Linked DNA regions of Homo sapiens: regions 2 and 3 are each linked to region 1. Evidence: promoter capture Hi-C in 16 types of primary human blood cells and fetal thymus (Javierre and others, 2016). All regions are on one chromosome and are shown on one strand. The core of a region is centred on a gene start or on the middle of the fragment in contact, and the rest is flanking DNA. Distances in the headings are between cores, read along the strand shown.

Region 1 (2,849 bases), core at 116-2,615:
AAGGGACTGGCCACAGGCCACCAAAAATTAGAACCCAAAATCCTTAGCTCATGTTTTAAATATTATACTAGAAAAGCAAAGCAGCTTTGGAGGAGCAGATTGTCTTCTACTGATTCTTGTGTTTGGCAGAGAGGCTGCCTTGGAAAGATGCCCTAAGCCCATCTTTTAAAAAGTCCAATCGTAAAGACAGGTTATCTAAGAACTTTATAGATTCTGGAGTCTTTGAAGTGTGTAACTGGGCCAGGGCTACCACAGAAGAAATCACAGACCTAGGGTCTTGATGTAAGAATTTACAAGATAACCAGATAAAGGCTAGTGGGTGAGGAGAGAGCATTAGAACCTCAAAGGAGAGATAAGGAAGGGGTGTGGAGCGAGGGACAATTGGCTTTGCTTTAAAAATATGTAACAAAATGGCCCAGTGTCTCTCACAGAAGGGTTCGGGGAAGGGAAACCAGAGATCGCGTTTTTCCGGCTCTAAGACTGGGTCGGCTTTTAGTCTTCTCTTCTGCTCCTTTTAAAGGAGATGGGGGTGGGGAACGAGAATGCTGGTGGCGATGTGGGCCTGCATCTCCTTCCCTCCTCCAGTCCTGGGAATTCCTGAAAACTCCTTCCAACCCAATTCCAAACAGGCTCTCTCTGGGTTCAGAACAATGCCGGGGAATTTCACGCAGGGAAGGGGTCCCCTTCTCGCCCCAGAGGGCAGGGGGCTACTCCGGAGCGAGTTCCGGCTCCAGGGTCCCCCACGTCCCACAGGTCTCCTGCCCTTTGGCACGCACAGCCCTCACCACTCGCTGCTTCCGCATCCCTCCTCTGAGCCTCTCCCCACGCATCTCTGCCCCTCGCCCGGCCGCGCCCAATCGCCTCCCACGTCTACCCCGCTGGGGCAGCCCCTACACCCTGCCAGGCACCCCATTTCTCTCCTCCAGGTCTGGGGGACTGGACAACATTGGGGATTAGCTGGGGTCAACTCTGCTTCCCCCGCCACCCCCGGCCCCGGGCGCGCGCTCACCCGGCGGCCGCGTTCTCGAACTTGAGCGCGAGCGTCTCCTCGATGATGCGGTTGTTCACCTCCAGCAGGATCATGGCGGCGGCTGCCCCCAGGGGAAGGAGAAACAAGGGCCGGTGAGGGTGGGTAAGGGAGGCAAGGACGGAGGGAGCGGCCCTGCTGCCCCCTGAGTGGGGCTGGGTGGGGTAGGAGGTTAGGGGAGAAGGGGAGAGGGGCCGGGGTGGAGGGAAGGGTAAGACGAACGCGCTGGCCCACGCACGCAGACTGTGGAGACACCCACCCACCCAACCGACCTGGCCCCCGAAGCCTGAACCCGCCTGCCGAGCCGCCGCCGCCGCCGCCACTGCCGCTTCACCGACAAGCCCGGTCCCCGCCCAGCCCCCGGCTCTAGCCGGCCACTTCCGCTCTCACACCCACTTCCGCTCGCCGCCTGGACGCGCGGCCCCGCGGCGCCATTTCCGCTTCAACCACTCGTGAACGCGAGCGCAGGCGCGCCGGAGGAAACGGAGGCTGCGCTTGCGTATGTGTGATGCCGCCGCCCCACCGTCTACTTTCCCACCGACCCCGCTTACGTCTACCGCCTACCAGTGCGTCCCCCGCGGAGCTGTCATTCCCCGAGGCTTGCCTGACTGTTCAGCTTCTCTCTCCCGCTTGTCCCAGAGATCCAACTCCATTCTTCCGGTCTTGTCATTTCAGAAACCTCGCAAGAAGCTCGCCCTTGTCGTCTCCCAGCGGGCTTCTTAGCTCCCAGCTTGTTTGATGGGGGTGCCTCTTTTTCTTTCCAGGTATAGCTGTCCAGCGACACCATCATGCATTCATTTCTCCAACAAACATTTTCATGGGCTCTTGCTCTATACTGGGGATGTAGTGGTAAATGAAATGGACGAGGCCCTGCCCTCGTGGAACTTACAGTCTGGCAAAGGAAACAGACAATAAAATTCTCAGTTGTCTAAGGAGGCAGAGATGCATGGGGAGAGGATCAGAGTAGGGATGCGGAAGCAGCGAGTGGTCAGGAGTGTGCGTGCCAAAAGGCAGGAGACCTGTGGGACGTGGGGGCAGCTGGGGCCGGAACTTGCGCTGGAGGAACACCCCTTGCCTGCTGGGGCGAGAAGAGGACCCTTTCCTTGGGTGAAATTCCCCATATTGTTAAAAGGACAATTAAAGAAATGAAAGAGAGGTCACCTGGGTGAATAGGCAACTTAGATGGGCCTCCCTGTGTTCCTGTCATGCCTCCAATTCTGCGTCCAGGTGTCCGGAACACATTTTTTTCTGCCTTTGAAACCTTCCAGTACCTCTGGCAGAGATATACCATACCCTCCTTGTTACCTGCGTGCGGAATCTTAACTCATCGTTGTGCTACATCTGCACCTTCTGCCTTTGTGCCTTGTTTTGTGTTTTCCCTCCTCCGGGGAGAATATAATAAACTTAGCTGAGTCCGTTCTACATACAAGGAAATAATTTATTTTCTGCTATGTGTTTGGGGATGGGGATAAAAAAATGAACAAGAAACTAGCTCCTATCATTAAGGCACAGATAGCCCTTTGAAACATTACTTAACGGGCTATGGATAAGCTTCAGGATATTGCTGATCCCCTAAAATTATACGCTAACTTAAATTTTTTTTTTTTTGAGACAGAGTCTTGCACTCTTGCCCAGGCTGGAGTGCAATGGCATGATCTCGGCTCACTGCAACCTCTGCCTCCCCGGTTCAAGCGATTCTCCTGCCTCAGCCTCCCAAATAGCTGGGATTAAAGGTGCCTGCCACCATGCCCTTTTAATGTTTTGTATTTTTAGTAGAGACGGGGTTTCACTATGTTGGTCAGGCTGGTCTCGAACTCCTGAC
Region 2 (2,849 bases), core at 90-2,589, 690 kb before region 1:
AAACCGCTCCAAAATTCAGTGGCTTAAAAATAACCATTTACATCCCACAGTCCTGTGGGTTGACTACAGTCAGCTGGGCAGTTCTCACGTGGGGTCTCTCAAGCAGTTCAGTTAGATGGTGGCTAAGGCTGGAGTCATCTGAAGGCTCAACTCGGCTGGATATCCAAGATGACTTTTTAAAAATTTATTTATTTATTTATTTATTTTTGAAGACACAGCCTCACTTCGTCACCCAGGCTGGACTGTAGTGGCGCAATCTCACTCACTGCAACCTCCACCTCCCAGGTTCAAGTGATTCTCATGCCTCAGCCTCCCGAGAAGCTGGGACTACAGGCATGTGCCACTATGTCTGGCTAATTTTTTGTATTTTTAGTAGAGATGGGGTTTCGCCATGTTGGCCAGGATGGTCTTGAACTCCTGGCCTCAAGTTATCCGCCTGCCTCGGCCTCCCAAAGTGCTGAGATTACAGGTGTGAACCACTGAGCCCAGCCCCAAGATGACTTTTTAAAGTCACATGTCTGGCACCTCATCTGAATTGGCTGGAACTGAAGGGGCCTGCCCAGGCATTACTCTCTCTATACAGCCTTCCCATGTGGCTTGTTTCGGGTTCCTCATAGCATGGTAGTCTCTGGGTAGACAGACCTCATACACGGTGATTGGCTTGCCCCAGAGTGAACATTCCGAGCGACTGAGGCAAAAACTGCAAAGCTTCCTATTCCCTCTCTTCAGCAGTCATGCAGCTTCGCTTCCACAGCACACTCAGTGAAAAGGAAGCATGGACTGGCCCTTTCAAGGGGAGGGGACAATACACAGGTGTGAAGCATGATTCAAGGCGGACCACCTTTGGGGCCCAGCTATTACAGGGGCTGAGGCAGGAAAGGACTGCTCAGGGAACTGCACACAGTCATGCTTCAGTGGAACATGGTGTGGAAGTGAGAAAAAACTGGAGATGATCGTTTGTGGCATATGGTGGAGGGCTTCAATGCTCAGGAACCTGCATATGGATACACACTGGAGTCTTTAGCTGCCCAGCATCTGAGCCCCCTTCATATGTTGGTGGAGCCTCCCTAATGTGAGTCTTAGTGAGAAGTCAGATACTTGCTCACCTGGCCCCTAGCAGGAAGATCACAGCCAAATCAATGCTCCCAGTCAGGACTCTAAATCTTCAACAAGTGACCCAAGGAGGAAGAGGACTGTTTATAATTCATCCCAGAGGTGGCAGCAGCAAGTGCTCAGGGTGGTGGTAGCCATGTGGGAAGCAGCCCCCAAGCCCCTTAATCAGGCTGCACTTGGGACAGGATTTAGCTAAAGTTCTAGCTGCCTAGCTTCTCTTGGCTCCTGCTTGCTTCCTGAGCCTGATTCTTGAGGCTTCCTGTCAATTCTTTGAGTTCCCTGATGTCATCCCAGTAAATTCCTCTTCTACTAAGTGAACCAGAGTCTGTTTCTGTTGTTTGCAATTAAGAACCCAAATTGGTACAAAGATCCATTGAGAGCTTTAGTCAGAGGAAATGACATGATCAGAGCACTTCGTGGGAGAGAAAAACAGAACAATAGGATAGGGATGGATTGAAGAGGAAGAAAGAGGAATGACAGAGGCTAGTTGGAAGGTCGTTGTGATGTTTGAGGTGTGTGGTGAACTAGGATATTGACCATGTGAATGAAGTGGAAGAATAAGCAGATCTTGGCCACTGATTGAATATAGAAAGGAGAAGAGAAGGTGAGAGTCCAAGTTTACACCAGTTTTGAGGTTCAGTGACTAAGAAAATGATGATGTGACAAAGAGAAACAAGCAAGTTAAGGAGAACTGGTTTGGAGGGGAAAGTCATTCATTCACTTATTCAACAAATATTAAATGCCTGGTCTATGCCAAGCACTGTGCTAGGCATTGAGAAAAGAACAGTAAACAAAACAAAGTCTCAGCCCTTAGCAAATACATACATAAGATAATGAATCTGCATTAATAAAGCTTGAGCCGGGCATGGTGGCTCACGCCTGTAATCCCAGCACTTTGGGAGGCTGAGGTAGGTGGATCACTTGGGGTCAGAAGTTCAAGACCAGCCTGGCCAACATAGTGAAACCCCATCTCTACTAAAAATACAAAAAATGAGCTGGGCGTGGTGGCAGGCCACCTGTAATCCCAGCCACTCAGGAGGCTGATGCAGGAGAATTGCTTGAACCTGGGAGGCAGAGGAGTCAGAGGTTGCTGTGAGCTGAGATGGCGCCATTGCACTCCAGCCTGGGTGACAGAGCAGGACTCTGTCTCAAAAATAAAATAAAATAAAATAAAGCTTGAGTGGGTGGTATCACAGGCATACATTAAAACATGTCTAGCTGGCAGCTGGAACTTCAAGAAAGATCACAGGAGACCAGGTGTGGTGGCTCACACCTGTAATCCCAGCACTTTGGGAGGCCAAGATGGGTGGATCACCTGAGGTCAGGAATTCAAGACCTGCCTGGCCAACATGGCGAAACCCTGTCTCTACTAAAATACAAAAATTAGCCCGGCATGGTGGTGCACACCTGTAATACCAGCTACTCAGGAGGCTAAGGCAGGAGAATTGCTTGAACCCAGGAGGCAGAGGTTGCAGTAAGCTGAAATCACACCACTGCATTCCAGCTTGGGTGACAGAGCGAGACTCTGTCTCAAAAGAAAAAAAAAGAAAGATCATAGGAAGGAAGTTTGGGCCTGAAGACAGAAGTTAGTAGTGATTTCTGTAGACATTTATTTATTTATTCATTCATTCACTTATATTTATTGAGTTCCTACTATGTACTTAATACCATTCTTGGCATTAGAAATACAGCAAAAAACAACAGAGTCTCAGTTCTCGTAGAGTTTCCATTATAGA
Region 3 (2,849 bases), core at 63-2,562, 660 kb before region 1:
GACCTGCAGACATATGGGGTGGAGTGGGTACGTGTTTTGGGGGGACCAGGAGAGCCCCATCTAACAACACACACTCTGTCCCAACGGCCATAATCACTCCCTCTTCCAACCTCTGCTTCTGAAGGTTGGGCCCATCAGTACACTCCTACACATTCCTCTCTCCTTGACCTCCTCACAATCATCCTGCCCAGTGCAACTCACTCAGCTAGCTGCACACCCACACAGGTAAGCGTGCAAATGCACACACATCCACCATGCTTGTGGCCACAGTATTTCCTATGCACATCCCCAGGAATAGATGCCCATACACACAGGGTTCCCCACAAGCCCACTCCCACAGATATGTTTCAGTCACATTCACATAGACACACTTCTGCACACATTGTGGTGGACACACAAACCCAACCCCAGCACACTTACGCACATGCACACTTCATCAGACATAGTTACAGACACACACACAAAGACACTCCCATTTACACATGTGTTCATCTTAACATACATTGACCCATGAGCTCTCACATGCACACATGGGCACACATACAAACTACTGTTTACCAACACAGTTTGCTGGGATCCTGGGCTCGATTGAAAACACACACACACACACACACACACACACAGCTCTTGCAGCTGCAGTCTCTCACTGACCCCACCTGGGCTACCCCCTTCCAGCCTCCCAACCCCTGCCCCTACCTGGGGCTGAGCTGCAGGAAGGAGTGAGGCAGCTTGTGCTTACTCCTGAGGTGGGGGTGCATTCCCCCAACAGGGCAGGAACTCCAGACTGGCACTTGCTCCCCCCCCACACACACCTCCCCTCCTAGTTGCCATCATGCTCCTGGGCACTGCCTTGTCTCCCTGGACTGCCCATATCCTGTCACCAGTCCAACCCCCTCCTATGAGGGAGCTCACTGCCTTTGGTTGGGCACCAGCACTTTCCTATGACCCTGTCCCTCCCTTCTTCCAGGGTCCTCTACCCCAGCAAGAGCATCAGAGGCCCCTGCAGGCCGGGGTCCCAACTCTCTAGGAGGGCGGAGCATGAGGTGAGGGCTCACCTGGGCATGGCAGCAGCCAGCAGCAGTAGGAAGAACAGGAGCACCCAGAGCGCTGGCCGCGGCTGGGGCTGGGGTCGGAGCCGCAGCCAGGGGCGAGGGTGGGCGCTGCCCATGGCGCGCAGGCCCTGACGGGCTGGGAGTGGGGGGCTCACAGCCCAGTGGGACTGGAGAGCCAGGGGCGCCGGCGCATGATCGGCGGGGGGTCGGGGCGGCTGCGACACACAGCTCCGACTCGGGTCAGGGCTCCCGGAGCAGACGGCGCCCGCCTCCCCGCTCCATGGGGCAGCACCCCCGGGCACCGCCCTCGGGGGGGGCGGGGGGTGAAGAGCGGGCGAACCGGGCACCTCCTGGCACAGGGGTCCGGGGAATTTCCCGAGGCCCCCCCGCGACAACTCCCGGTGCCTCTCAAGGGTAAGGGGGGCCCGGAGGTGCAGCGGGCTGGGGACGGGAGGCTGGGGTGCCGGGGAACCCTCCAGCGCAGCGCCGGGAGCCTGCGCTTCCGAGGGCGTGCGAGGCTGGCTGGCGGGGGCGGCGCTGTCTGTGTCGGGCCCCACTGCCTGTAGAGTAAGTGACTGTCCCGGCTCGGGGAGCTCTGCCGCCTTCCCTTTCCTCCCCCCACCCCCCCGCCATTTAGTGTCTCAGGGCTCTACCCCACGTGACGTCACGCGGCGGGGCGTGGAGGCGTGTACGAGTCCCGAGGCCACTGCGTCCGCTGGGGACTGGGGGTGGGAGCGTCCCTGCTGAGGGCAACAGAGGGAAAGGTGTTGGGGTCTGTGCGCGCGTGCACAGGAAGATGCCTGTGTGTGGAGCGCGCTGGGTTGTGTGGGGGATATGTGTTACCGCGAGGTGTGTGTGCCTGGCAGAGACGCAGCTGCTGGGGAGCGCCCCCATCCCACCCCAACACACACACCTGCAGGGGCTGGAGGGGAGGGGCTGGCCTCTGTGTTTCGCCTCCTCCGCCAGAGGAGGGACTTCCCCCAGGCCTGCCTGGTGTGAGGCAGGTGTGGGCTCCTGCAGAGGAGTTTGGCAGCCTCTGGTTTCTTCTCCCCTTTGCTGTGTGACCTTAAACAGGTGCCTCCTGCTCCTGCTCACGGAGACCTCCTCTGCCCCTTTGCGGAATGCGGCTCATGGGGACCACCTTGTCTCCTCAGTGAGCCCGGGGAGGCAGCAGTGTCAGGCCCCCAGAAAATGCTTGCGTAGGAGCGCCCGGGGTGGCACGTCCTGGGAGGAGGCGTTAGAGAGACTTTTAACCCTAGAAGTGGCCGTTGAGATAGTTTATTTAGCTCCCCTTTATTTCACAAGAAAATATCGAGGCTCAAAGAGGTCACACAGCAAATTAGCGGAAGAGCGAGAACCGAACGCAGCTCTCCTGACTCCCAGCGCAGCAGCTGCCTCCCCAACACTGAGTGTTGCCTGCCTGTGCCCGCAGATACTCTCAGTCTTGTCCTGGCCCTCCCTGGCCCCACCTGCACATGGTCCTCTAGGAGGTCCCTAATACCAGCCTCCTGGCTCAGGTCTACTTCTCGCTGAGATCTTCCTGTCCCTCCACCCCAACTGAACACTGGGCCCCTCCTCGATATAGTGCAAGTGTGCTGGGCCCAAGCAAGGGCCTGAGAGCCAGAGGGCAGGGGAAAGGCAGCTCTGCCGTCTGTTTCTGGTGCTAGCCTGGGCCCTGATAGTGGATCGTGCTCCTGCCCTGTGCCCTCGGCATCCTCCTCTGTAAAATGGGCACAAGCCTTTACACAAACATGCCCCTCTCTCTGAAGAGAGCCCCTGCTGGCTTAGGAACAAAAC

Evidence for each region. The method cuts DNA at HindIII sites, captures the fragments that hold promoters and counts their contacts. A CHiCAGO score of 5 or more calls a contact.
Region 2: a fragment that was not itself captured here is called in contact with the fragment with the promoter of ARPC2 in region 1 in 2 of 17 cell types (total B cells and activated CD4 T cells); the score reaches 5.7 in total B cells.
Region 3: a contact is called between the fragment with the promoter of WNT10A here and the fragment with the promoter of ARPC2 in region 1, in 7 of 17 cell types (non-activated CD4 T cells, naive CD8 T cells, naive CD4 T cells and 4 more). The highest score is 8.3, in non-activated CD4 T cells.

The regions. Positions count from the first base shown.
Region 1 is chr2:218,215,705-218,218,553 of GRCh38, reverse strand. ARPC2 (actin related protein 2/3 complex subunit 2) reads right to left here and starts at 1,365. Exons shown (of 11, transcript NM_152862.3): 1 at 1,300-1,365; 2 at 1,010-1,091. The coding sequence starts at 1,083. It overlaps LOC101928487 (a long non-coding RNA gene), which reads left to right and starts at 1,368. Exons shown (of 2, transcript XR_923908.2): 1 at 1,368-1,526; 2 at 1,703-2,453. RefSeq lists a silencer at 1,182-1,231 and an enhancer at 753-1,356. The HindIII fragment of the contact is 6,430 bases long and covers 1-2,580 here.
Region 2 is chr2:218,903,037-218,905,885 of GRCh38, reverse strand. The region is part of intron 4 of LINC01494 (long intergenic non-protein coding RNA 1494); the gene reads left to right. Among named protein-coding and RNA genes, the nearest start is that of WNT10A, 24 kb to the right of the region's middle. The HindIII fragment of the contact is 1,258 bases long and covers 711-1,968 here.
Region 3 is chr2:218,879,315-218,882,163 of GRCh38, reverse strand. It overlaps WNT10A (Wnt family member 10A), which reads right to left and starts at 1,312. Exons shown (of 4, transcript NM_025216.3): 1 at 1,056-1,312; 2 at 1-3. The coding sequence starts at 1,168. RefSeq lists silencers at 1,237-1,376, 1,397-1,606, 1,827-1,886. The HindIII fragment of the contact is 9,483 bases long and covers 1-2,849 here.